Regions from separate parts of the Homo sapiens genome. Here region 1 is linked to region 2. Evidence: promoter capture Hi-C in 16 types of primary human blood cells and fetal thymus (Javierre and others, 2016). All regions are on one chromosome and are shown on one strand. Each heading gives the region's core, a stretch centred on a gene start or on the middle of the fragment in contact. The rest is flanking DNA. Distances are from core to core; before and after follow the strand shown.

What was found. Contacts are between HindIII fragments. The CHiCAGO score rates a contact against its expected background, and 5 or more counts as called.
Region 1: a contact is called between the fragment with the promoter of PRKD2 here and the fragment with the promoter of INAFM1 in region 2, in 4 of 17 cell types (fetal thymus, total CD8 T cells, neutrophils and 1 more). The highest score is 7.3, in fetal thymus.

What each region holds. Positions count from the first base shown.
Region 1 is chr19:46,714,617-46,718,976 of GRCh38, forward strand. It overlaps PRKD2 (protein kinase D2), which reads right to left and starts at 2,498. Exons shown (of 18, transcript NM_016457.5): 1 at 1,515-2,498. The coding sequence starts at 1,754. It overlaps LOC107987269, which reads right to left. Exons shown (of 4, transcript XM_017027568.2): 1 at 4,030-4,360; 2 at 3,737-3,886; 3 at 3,183-3,360; 4 at 1,918-2,561. The coding sequence ends at 2,195. RefSeq lists enhancers at 1-232, 3,744-3,793 and silencers at 2,394-2,443, 2,464-2,623. The HindIII fragment of the contact is 18,729 bases long and covers 331-4,360 here.
Region 2 is chr19:47,272,772-47,277,079 of GRCh38, forward strand. It overlaps INAFM1 (InaF motif containing 1), which reads left to right and starts at 2,114. Exons shown (of 1, transcript NM_178511.6): 1 at 2,114-2,952. The coding sequence starts at 2,149. The coding sequence ends at 2,577. It also overlaps a transcript of CCDC9 not described here. RefSeq lists silencers at 496-805, 1,416-1,675, 2,036-2,485. The HindIII fragment of the contact is 4,952 bases long and covers 1,236-4,308 here.

The DNA.
Region 1 (4,360 bases), core at 1,248-3,747, 560 kb before region 2:
AAAGTGAAACTGCCCCGGTGGGGCCTCGGGAAGGAAGGTAAGCGGCCCTAACACACCTGGACCTGGCAGAAAAATAAAACTGGGGTGAAGCCTGAGCGGGGCAGGCTGGGGACTTGAGCACTGGACAAAGAAGTTCACCCAAGGGACAATCTGCCCCCGTACCCCCACTGCCACCAGCTTCCCATGAAGTGGGCTGAGTTGGGGTGGTGAGCTGGGCCTGCGGGATTGAGGCATTTGGTGGGCAAAACCCTATCAGTTCTCACTGCTAAGAGAGAGTCCACAGAAGACCAGGACTGCCTTGGCCCTGACCCCTTGGGAAGTTTTTCTCTAAGCTTCAGTTTCCTTGTCTGTAGAATGGGGGAGCTGGCCCAGTTCCCCACGTTTCTCTGATGCCCAAAGGATTCATTTCCAGGAGTCTGAAAAGATTCTGGAATTTGGATATTTTGGGACTCCAACATGCTCACATTATAGAATTATACATTCTAGATTCCTACCTGGTATCACTATACATTTTAGGATTTCAATAACCTAAATAAGCGGTAATCTAATATTTTAATATTCTAGGAGTCTGACAAGCTAGGACTGTGCTCTTTGAATTCTTTAGCATTCAAGGACCTCATCCATCCAGCATTCTAAAATTCTAACATTTTAACTTTCTAGGATTCAACAATCTAGGAATCTAATATTCCAGCATTTTAATGTTTTACTATTTCACAAACCTAGAATTCTAATATTTGAACACGAACATGGGGGCAATTTAATTGCCTAGGATGCATATTCCAACAAGTTATGATTCTAATATTCTAACATTTCTACAGTCCAGTACTCCAACACAGAAGCCCACTATTCTTTTAACATTTCACGGTTTAGACGTGGAGTTCCACCTGGTTTCCTCTTGCCATAACACCCAGCTGCCCACCCTGGGGACCCTGGTGTCCAAAATTAAGAGTAGGCTAACAGCACTGTGACTAGGAAAGGGAATAGAGTCCCCAGGGTCTGTAGGAGTGCCTGCCCCTCCACACATATCTCAGGCTTAGGGGAGGGCAGAATTGGGCTCCGAGACCTCACTTGCCCCTGGCAGCTAACTCAAGCACCTGCACCCACACATGTCACCGGATCACCATGGCCAGCCCGGGTTCAATTTCTCCTGTTTCCACCAAATGGGAGGCCCGGGATGGGCCTGGACGTGGAGGTCCGCCGACATCTGCTGCCCCTTCCTCCCCTCTCTACACCTGGCTGGCCCCTCCCTTCCTCCCTGTTTGCTGCAGAAAACAACGACATGCAGGGACATGAAATTTGGGGAGGCCTCTGGGGCACCCCACCCCTGCCCAGTCCTCTCTCAAAGGGATGGTGGGGAGAGGGGCAATGGAGGGGGGCAATGCCCCCTATCCCTCCATCACCCAAAGCTCAGGTCTCCTTCCTCCCTCTTCCGCACACCAGGCCCCAGACCCCTCTGCCAGCGCCCCCTCCTTCAACCTCTCCCCGAGCTGGATCCAGGGAGCCTGCGCCCTCACCTTCTGGTCCACGATGGAACAGGCCAGCTGCTTCACATGAGCCAGCTCGGAGGCGGCGGGCAACAGCACGAACTCGCGGGTCAGCCCGATCTGGATGTGAAAGGAGACCCCGGAACCCGGGGCCGGGATCTGGGGCAGTAGCGGTGGCGGCGACTGCAGCTCTAGGCCGCCGGGGGGCGGAGGAGACCCCGGCCCGGGAGAGCCAGGGAGCCCGGCGGGATAAGAGGGGGCGGTGGCCATGGGGGGAGGCCGGGGACCGGCCGCCTGGAGCCCACCCGGGACCCGGCCGGGGGGCCCCGGGGGACCCTGGGTTCTAGATCCGCGGGATCTCGTGAGCAGGTGGTGGGAGAGCGGGGATCCGAGAAAAGATCTGGCAGGCGGAGGGGACCTGAGGATGGCGGGGTCCTGGGAAGGAGAGAAAGGCACTATAGTGGGTCAGAGGCCCGGAATCCAGGGCTCCCAGAAGATCAGAAAGGAGAAAAGTAGTGGGTTGGAGGTCCCAGCGATTGAGATTCCAAGAAGCCTGAGAGGAAATCTAGTAGGTCGGGGTCACAGGGATCAGGAGAGCCCGCGATTCAAAGGCCCCTTCCCTAGAGGAGGGATTGAGAAGGGGGCAGAGGGAATCCCAGGATCCAGTGCTCCAAGAAGAGGATCCCACTCAGAAGGCGGCCCGGGGGAATTCACCTTGGGGGTGGAGGGCAGGAGTCTCTGAGTCGGGGACCGAGTGGATTCCAGAGATAAAGGGGTTCGCAGGGACCCGACCGGCCAGGGGATGGGCAGAGGGGTCCCGAGGGCCGGAGTGGGTAGAAGGGAATCTCACGAGTCGCAGAAGTTGGAGAAAAGTTCGGTCGGGAGCCGTGAGGAAGGGGGCGTTGCCGGAGCGGGGTTGGGTGGGGGGCAGGGAGGGTCGCCAGGCGCCAGTAGCTCTTTTTCCCCCTCCAAAGTTTAAGTCGGCGGCGGCGGCGGCGGCCCAGGAGGAAGTGTCCGGAGCGACAGTGCAGTCGACCAATCGGCGCGGGCCTCGGCGACGTCAGAGAGGGGCGGAGCCTGCCGAGGGGCCGGGGGCGGAAGGGGAGGGTGGGCCCGGGGCCTCCGAGTTGGGGGCTGGACCTCCGCCTCCAGGGTCCGGGACAAGGGATGGTGTGAGGGATGGAGGGCAGGCAGGCGAGACCAGTTCCTTCCCTGAACACAGCCAAGCCTGGAAAGTTAACTTTTCCCTCGGCTGGACAGGGAGGGGAAACACTATCACCCACCGCCGGTCGCAGGCGTCGGGCTTGGAGGCCACTGGCCCTTTAAGGAGGGGAGCCCTCTCCGGCAGGCGTCCGGCGCCCATGGCAGGGGACGGGTGGGAAATCGGTATCAGGTCCCGGCCCGCTCTCTGGGTTCGGCCTCTCTGTTCTCCGAGCGTCACCCCTGCCCTCCCCGCCGCGTCCCAGCCCAGGGAAGGGGGTGCTGCAGAGCGTCCCCCGGCCCCAGCCCATTTAACACATGGAAAGACCGAGGCCTCCAGATGGGTAGGAAGGGGCTCGCCTTAGGTCTGTCTCCAGCGATGGTGGGCAAGGTGCATGGCGCTAACTGGATGGGTGGGGAGGGTCCATCCCCCCGCCCACCCCAACCCCGCCTTAGGATAGTGTGGGGCTGCCCCGAGGGAGGACAGCACACCCATACCACTTCATAGATGCAGAGTGTGTCTCCTGGGGATGTGGAGTACGTGTGCGTGTCTTTCTCTCCATGTGACTTTGGGTGAGTGGCTTCTCTGTGAGCCTCAGTCCCTCCATCTGTTGGGACTGTAATAGGACTGACCCCACATGGGATGGTGGGAGCCGATGCCATGGTATACTGGTGCCTGGAAACGCAGCAGTTCAGTAAGAGGTGGTTGTCTCTGATAATACGCGGAAAGGGGTGGCCACCTCCAGCACTCAGGCTTTGATGGGTGGGCACACCCATTCAGTCACCCAGCAAGTATCTGTGAGGACCTACTGGGTGCTGGGTGGGCCCTGCTGTAAAACTCCAGCCGCTACAGGGGTCAGGCTTGATCTCTCCTCCCCAGCTAATAATCAAATAGTGGCTACCATTTAGTTTACACAGAATAAGCTGAAGCCTCAGAGAAGCAAAACGTCTTGCCCAAGATCCCAGAGTGAAGTTGCTTGAGGGAAGCTGCCCCACCCACCCCTTTGATTGACAAGTCAAGGCCTAGGTTTGAGCTCTAAGAGAAGGGCCACCTGTCTGGCTGGGATGCTGGCAGGACTGGAAATGGCAGGGCTGGCTGAGGATGGGGGCTGCCAGAAGAGCCCCTCTTCCTGGTGTACGGCCGTTGGGGGTAGCTGAGGTCGGTACAGTATCGATTCTGTCACCACATCCGGGGGCTGGGGCTGAGGAAGGAAGTCTGAGGCTGGAGTGAAAACCCAAACCACCACCTGGGGAACTGCATTGAGCCCAGAGGGATGGGCAGGGAGCACACCACGTGGAGCCCACGAAGGCTCCCCTTGGCGTCATCTAAGGGCCTCCTGCCCACCTGCACCCTTTTTCCTGAAGGGCAGATGACTGTCCCAGCAAAACGCTGCCATGTCCTGAGTGTCCAGACAGCGGCCTCCATCCTTTCTCGTATGTTCACTGGGGCCTGCTGGGGGACTGGGGCACAGCCCTTTACAACCCAGGAACTGGGCATTAGTGCCCTGTGGCAGAGGTGCTAGGATTACCGAGGACGCCTGGCTGGTAGGTGGTGGAAGCCTCCTCGAGACAGGAGCAGCGGTCCCCTCCGTCTCATCTGGAGCATGTGGACACCTGCTCCCTCTTTTTAAGGCTGTGGACCCAGTGAAATGCCATGTAAAGCACTCAGTACAGTA
Region 2 (4,308 bases), core at 864-3,363:
GGGCAAATTAGAATAGACATGCGTACCCGATCAGCATTTTGGGACCGACGAAGTGCGAGCAAGAGGCCAAGCCCCTCTCCACCTACACTCCGTAGGAGTAAGATTTCGAATCTCAGATGGCCTCCCCTTCCCCCAGAGTGGGATTAGGATTTTGGGGGCAGAGCCAAGGAAGGACTGGTTAGAATAGCAGGCGTTGGCGAAGGAAAGGGGAGGGCGGGTCCTCTAGGACTGGCTTGGTGGAGGTTGATGAAGGCCGTGAGATGGGGCGGGGGTGGGAGAGGACAGTTTGCAGCCTTGGGTGGCGCGGGGGCCCAGACCCTCTGTCTTGGGCCACTTGTTGGTCGGGAGCCAGATCTCGCCACACCCGCGTTTCCTCGATTGTAAACGGTTATGTTGGGAGTGTTTGCTGCTGCGTGGGTCCGCTGAGAGGATTAGTCTGGGCCCCGTAAACCGCTTAGCGCCGAGCCTGCTGTGGCAAGGGCTCGAACTGGATGAGAGACGTGGCTAGACGGGGGAGGGGTGCTGGGCCGGGGGGGAGGTGGGAAGACTGCTCCCCTCCGCTGACTCAGCCCCTTCTCTCCTCAGAGGCAGGCCCCGAAGGCCAGGAGACGGCGGAGATCACCGACTTCCAGAGGGTGCGTTTCTGCAAGGTGGTGGCGGCCCCTCCGCTGCCGGGGGCCGCTCGCTGACCGCGCCCGCCGGACCGCGGCCTCCGCGCTCTGCACTAACCTCCCACCGCCTCGCTCCTCTGTCCTCTGCTTCTGCCACACTCCAGCCAGGAGAGGGTTAAATCTAAGGGGGGAGGAGCCAGGGTCTGCGAGCCGGGCGGGGCCAGGGCAGTAGTCGGGTGCAGGCCCCACCAACGGGGGACGTCACGGCACTGGGACGGCTGGGACGCTTCCGCGTTAGTCTCCCATGGAGGCCCTGGGCGGCTCGAGCCAGTCTTCAGGCCGAATCTCCCGCCTCCAGGATTGCATCCGAGGCCTGGCAGCCGGTGACACTTCCGAAGGGCTTGAATTACTCGGGCGCCAGCCCTGTCGTATTAAACGCAGTGCTTCCGCTCACCCTTGAACTGTGTTTCTGGAGGGGGCAGGCTGGGTCGCTGTGCTTGGCGGGCTTTTCTGTGGCGGAAGAGGCGGAAGGAAGGGGTCTTCCTCCACCCTTCTGATCCGTCTTCCCTCCCCCCTCCCGCAGGCCTCCCCGAATTCCTGAAGACGCTGCTGGGAGGGGACTGAAGCTTCCCCGCCTTGATGGGGAGGGGGCGTGAGGAGGGGTTTATCTGGATTTCCAGGCTGTGTTCTTTCTACCCCAGAGCCTAGTCTGGACCCCTTGGCTCTAGGGAGAGGGAAAAGCTGACCGTTGGGGAGGAGCTGGGAGAAGGGGCGCGATTGCGGTGAGGGGCGGAGCTGGAACCTCGGGGCCTGAGGTGCTGAGGATACCTGAAAGCGGGCTGAGAGTGTGCTGGAGGAGGCGGGTCCCGCGGGGGCGGAGCTAGGCTGCCTGGGCGGGGCCGGAATCCTGACAGGCGGAGTTAGAGCGGGGGGCGGGGTCAGCGCGCGCGGGTGGGGCTCTGGCCATGGGCATGGGGCGGGGCCGTCAGCGGGGGCGTGGTCGGGGTGTCGCGCGGGAACCCGCGCGGGAGGAGAGCGGGGATTCCGGAACTAGAGTGTGGGAGCCAGAGGCCGTAGCGGGCAGGGCTCGAGCACTGGAGTAGAGCAGTCCGACAGGTAGAGAAGTGAGACTGGCTGCGGCACAGGGCGGGTTAGGGCTCCAGGCAGGGCTTGAGCGGGACGAGGGGGCGGGCTCCGAGGCGGGCTAGATGCCTGGGCTGGATGAAGTCCGAGTCTGGGAAGAGAACCGTGTTGTGGCGGGAGGAGGCGGTGATTGGGGTGGTGGGGCTAAGCGCGGGGGCGGGGCTGGAGCGAGGGGGGCGGGGTAGCACCTCCGCCTGTCGGTGGTGGGGCGGAGGCTGGAGGGGGTGGGCCTAGGATGCGGAGGCGGCAGCTCGCGTGGGGGCGTGACCATGCTGGCGGGGGCGGGGCCGGAGGCGGGCGGTTTAGAGAGCGGGGCGGTCTGCGGGGTGGGGGCGGGGCCTGGTGGGGGCGGGGCCTGTGCGGTCTGCGGCGCGGAGCCGAGTGGGCTGCGGGGATGCGGGGGACCAGCTGCGTGGGCGGCGGCGCCGAGAGCCCCGGAGGCGCGGGGCTGAGCGAGGGCCCGCGGGGGCGCTGGCTGCGCTTGGCTCCGGTATGCGCCTACTTCCTCTGCGTCTCGCTAGCTGCCGTGCTGCTCGCCGTGTACTACGGTCTCATCTGGGTACCCACGCGGTCTCCCGCGGCACCCGCCGGCCCACAGCCCAGCGCGCCGTCCCCTCCGTGTGCTGCCCGCCCGGGCGTGCCGCCTGTCCCGGCGCCCGCCGCTGCCTCCCTCTCCTGCCTCCTGGGAGTCCCCGGCGGGCCGCGACCCCAGCTCCAGCTGCCGCTGAGCCGCCGCCGCCGCTACAGCGACCCTGACCGCCGTCCGAGCCGCCAGACACCCAGAGAGACGCCAGAGGCCGCGGAGGGGCGAAGACCCGGGTAACTCTCCCTTCCACCCCAACCCGGATCGCCAGCCCTCGAGAGCTCTGTGCTCCACGCCGAGGATGCACCGTCTCTGGATTGGTCCGGCCTTCTTCCTAATGACATCGCTCAGCGTCTCTGGAGCCGTCATCCCGCGGAATGGGGGCCCAGGGGGTGTCAGCTCGGGGCCTTGCCTCTTGCAGCTACTCTGTGGTCAGGCCGGGTCCTCCACCATCAGGAAGATCCCATCCTGAGCTCTGTCTCCTGCCCCTCCTGCTGTGGGATGCTGAGCACAGAGCCCACAGCCCATCTGCCTCTTCACCTCCCTGAATCCGTGTCCATCTGCAATAAACGACAGCCTCGGCTGCCTCGTGCTGTGTCTGTCCTGTTGTCTGCAGAGATGCCTCCCCTCCCAAGTTTGTGTGGGAAAGACCTTCCTGGGGTGTGGCCTTTGTCTGTTTTGTCCCGGGTGGGCTGTTCCCCTTCCTTAAGGAGCTCTTCTTTTCTTGGAGTAGGGAGAAGCAGCTTAGCAGCAGCAGGGCCTTTGAAGGTCAGACAGTGGGAAGGGCTTCCCAGTTTTTTGTGTGCTTGGAGCAAAGGACAAATGTCTCTGGGGAGAAGCAGAGTGTCTGCCCTCGTGTTACAGCACAGGAGACAAGAGGAGGGGTGGGGTGATATAGGACAATAGCTGGGGTTCTGGGAATTGCTGTTGGTGTAATTATCATGTCAGGGACAGAGGCTGAATCACCCAGGGATCTCAGTTGGCTGCCGAGAGGGAACGATGCTGGCCCACTTCCTGGGGTCAGAGAGATGAGAGTGGATGGCGGCGGCGGTGGTGTTGCTTCTCAGCCTGTCTGGAAATCTCAGAGCCAATGACCAAAGCGCTGTGCTGCCTTGGAAGACTGGTGCAGCCTCTGGCCTGGGGCGCTGCTAGGAAACCAAGGCCGGGAAACTGAGGTCTAGCTTCTGGGCAAGGAGTCCGAGGTGGGGAGGCCATGTTCCATCCTGGAAGACTGAGGCCTGGCTCTGGACAGGGCCTGGGATCTGACATGCAGGAAGCTGGTTCCTGTCCAGCCTCCCCGCTTGAGCTGGAGGCCTTCCCAGGAGAGTGAGGCTGAGCATCTTCTCCCACGCTGTGGCTCCTGGAGATCTGTGGAGGTGGTTAGGAAGGTCAGCTGCTCTGCTCACCTCCCCTTTACCCCACCACCACTCCCCAGAGGGTGGTTGTGAAGGGGAATCTAGGAAGCCAGCACTTCTTTGTAGTCAGCATAGGTGATAGTTAGGGGCACTGACTGGGGCGAGACTACTCGGGTTCAAATTCCAGCTCCTCTCATTACAAACTGTGTGACTTTGGGCAGGTCACTTGACCTCTGTGTTTCTTTTTTTTTTTTTTTGAGATGGAGTCTTGCACTGTTGCCCAGGCTGGAGTGCAGTGGCATGATCTTGCTCACTGCAACCTCCGCCTTCTGGTTCAGGTGAGTCTCCTGCCTCAACCTCCTGAGTAGCTGGGATTACAGGTGCCCACCACCACACCCAGCTAATTTTTTTTTTGTATTTTTATTTTTTATTATTTTTATTTTGAGAGAAGTCTCACTCTTGTCCCCCACGCTTGAGTGCAATGGCTCGATCTCTGCTCACTGCAACCTCCACCTCCCAGGTTCAAACAATTCTCCTGTCTCTGCCTCTCAAGTAGCTGGGATTAAGGCCCCTGCCACCACGCCTGGCTAATTTTTGTATTTTTTAGTAGAGACGC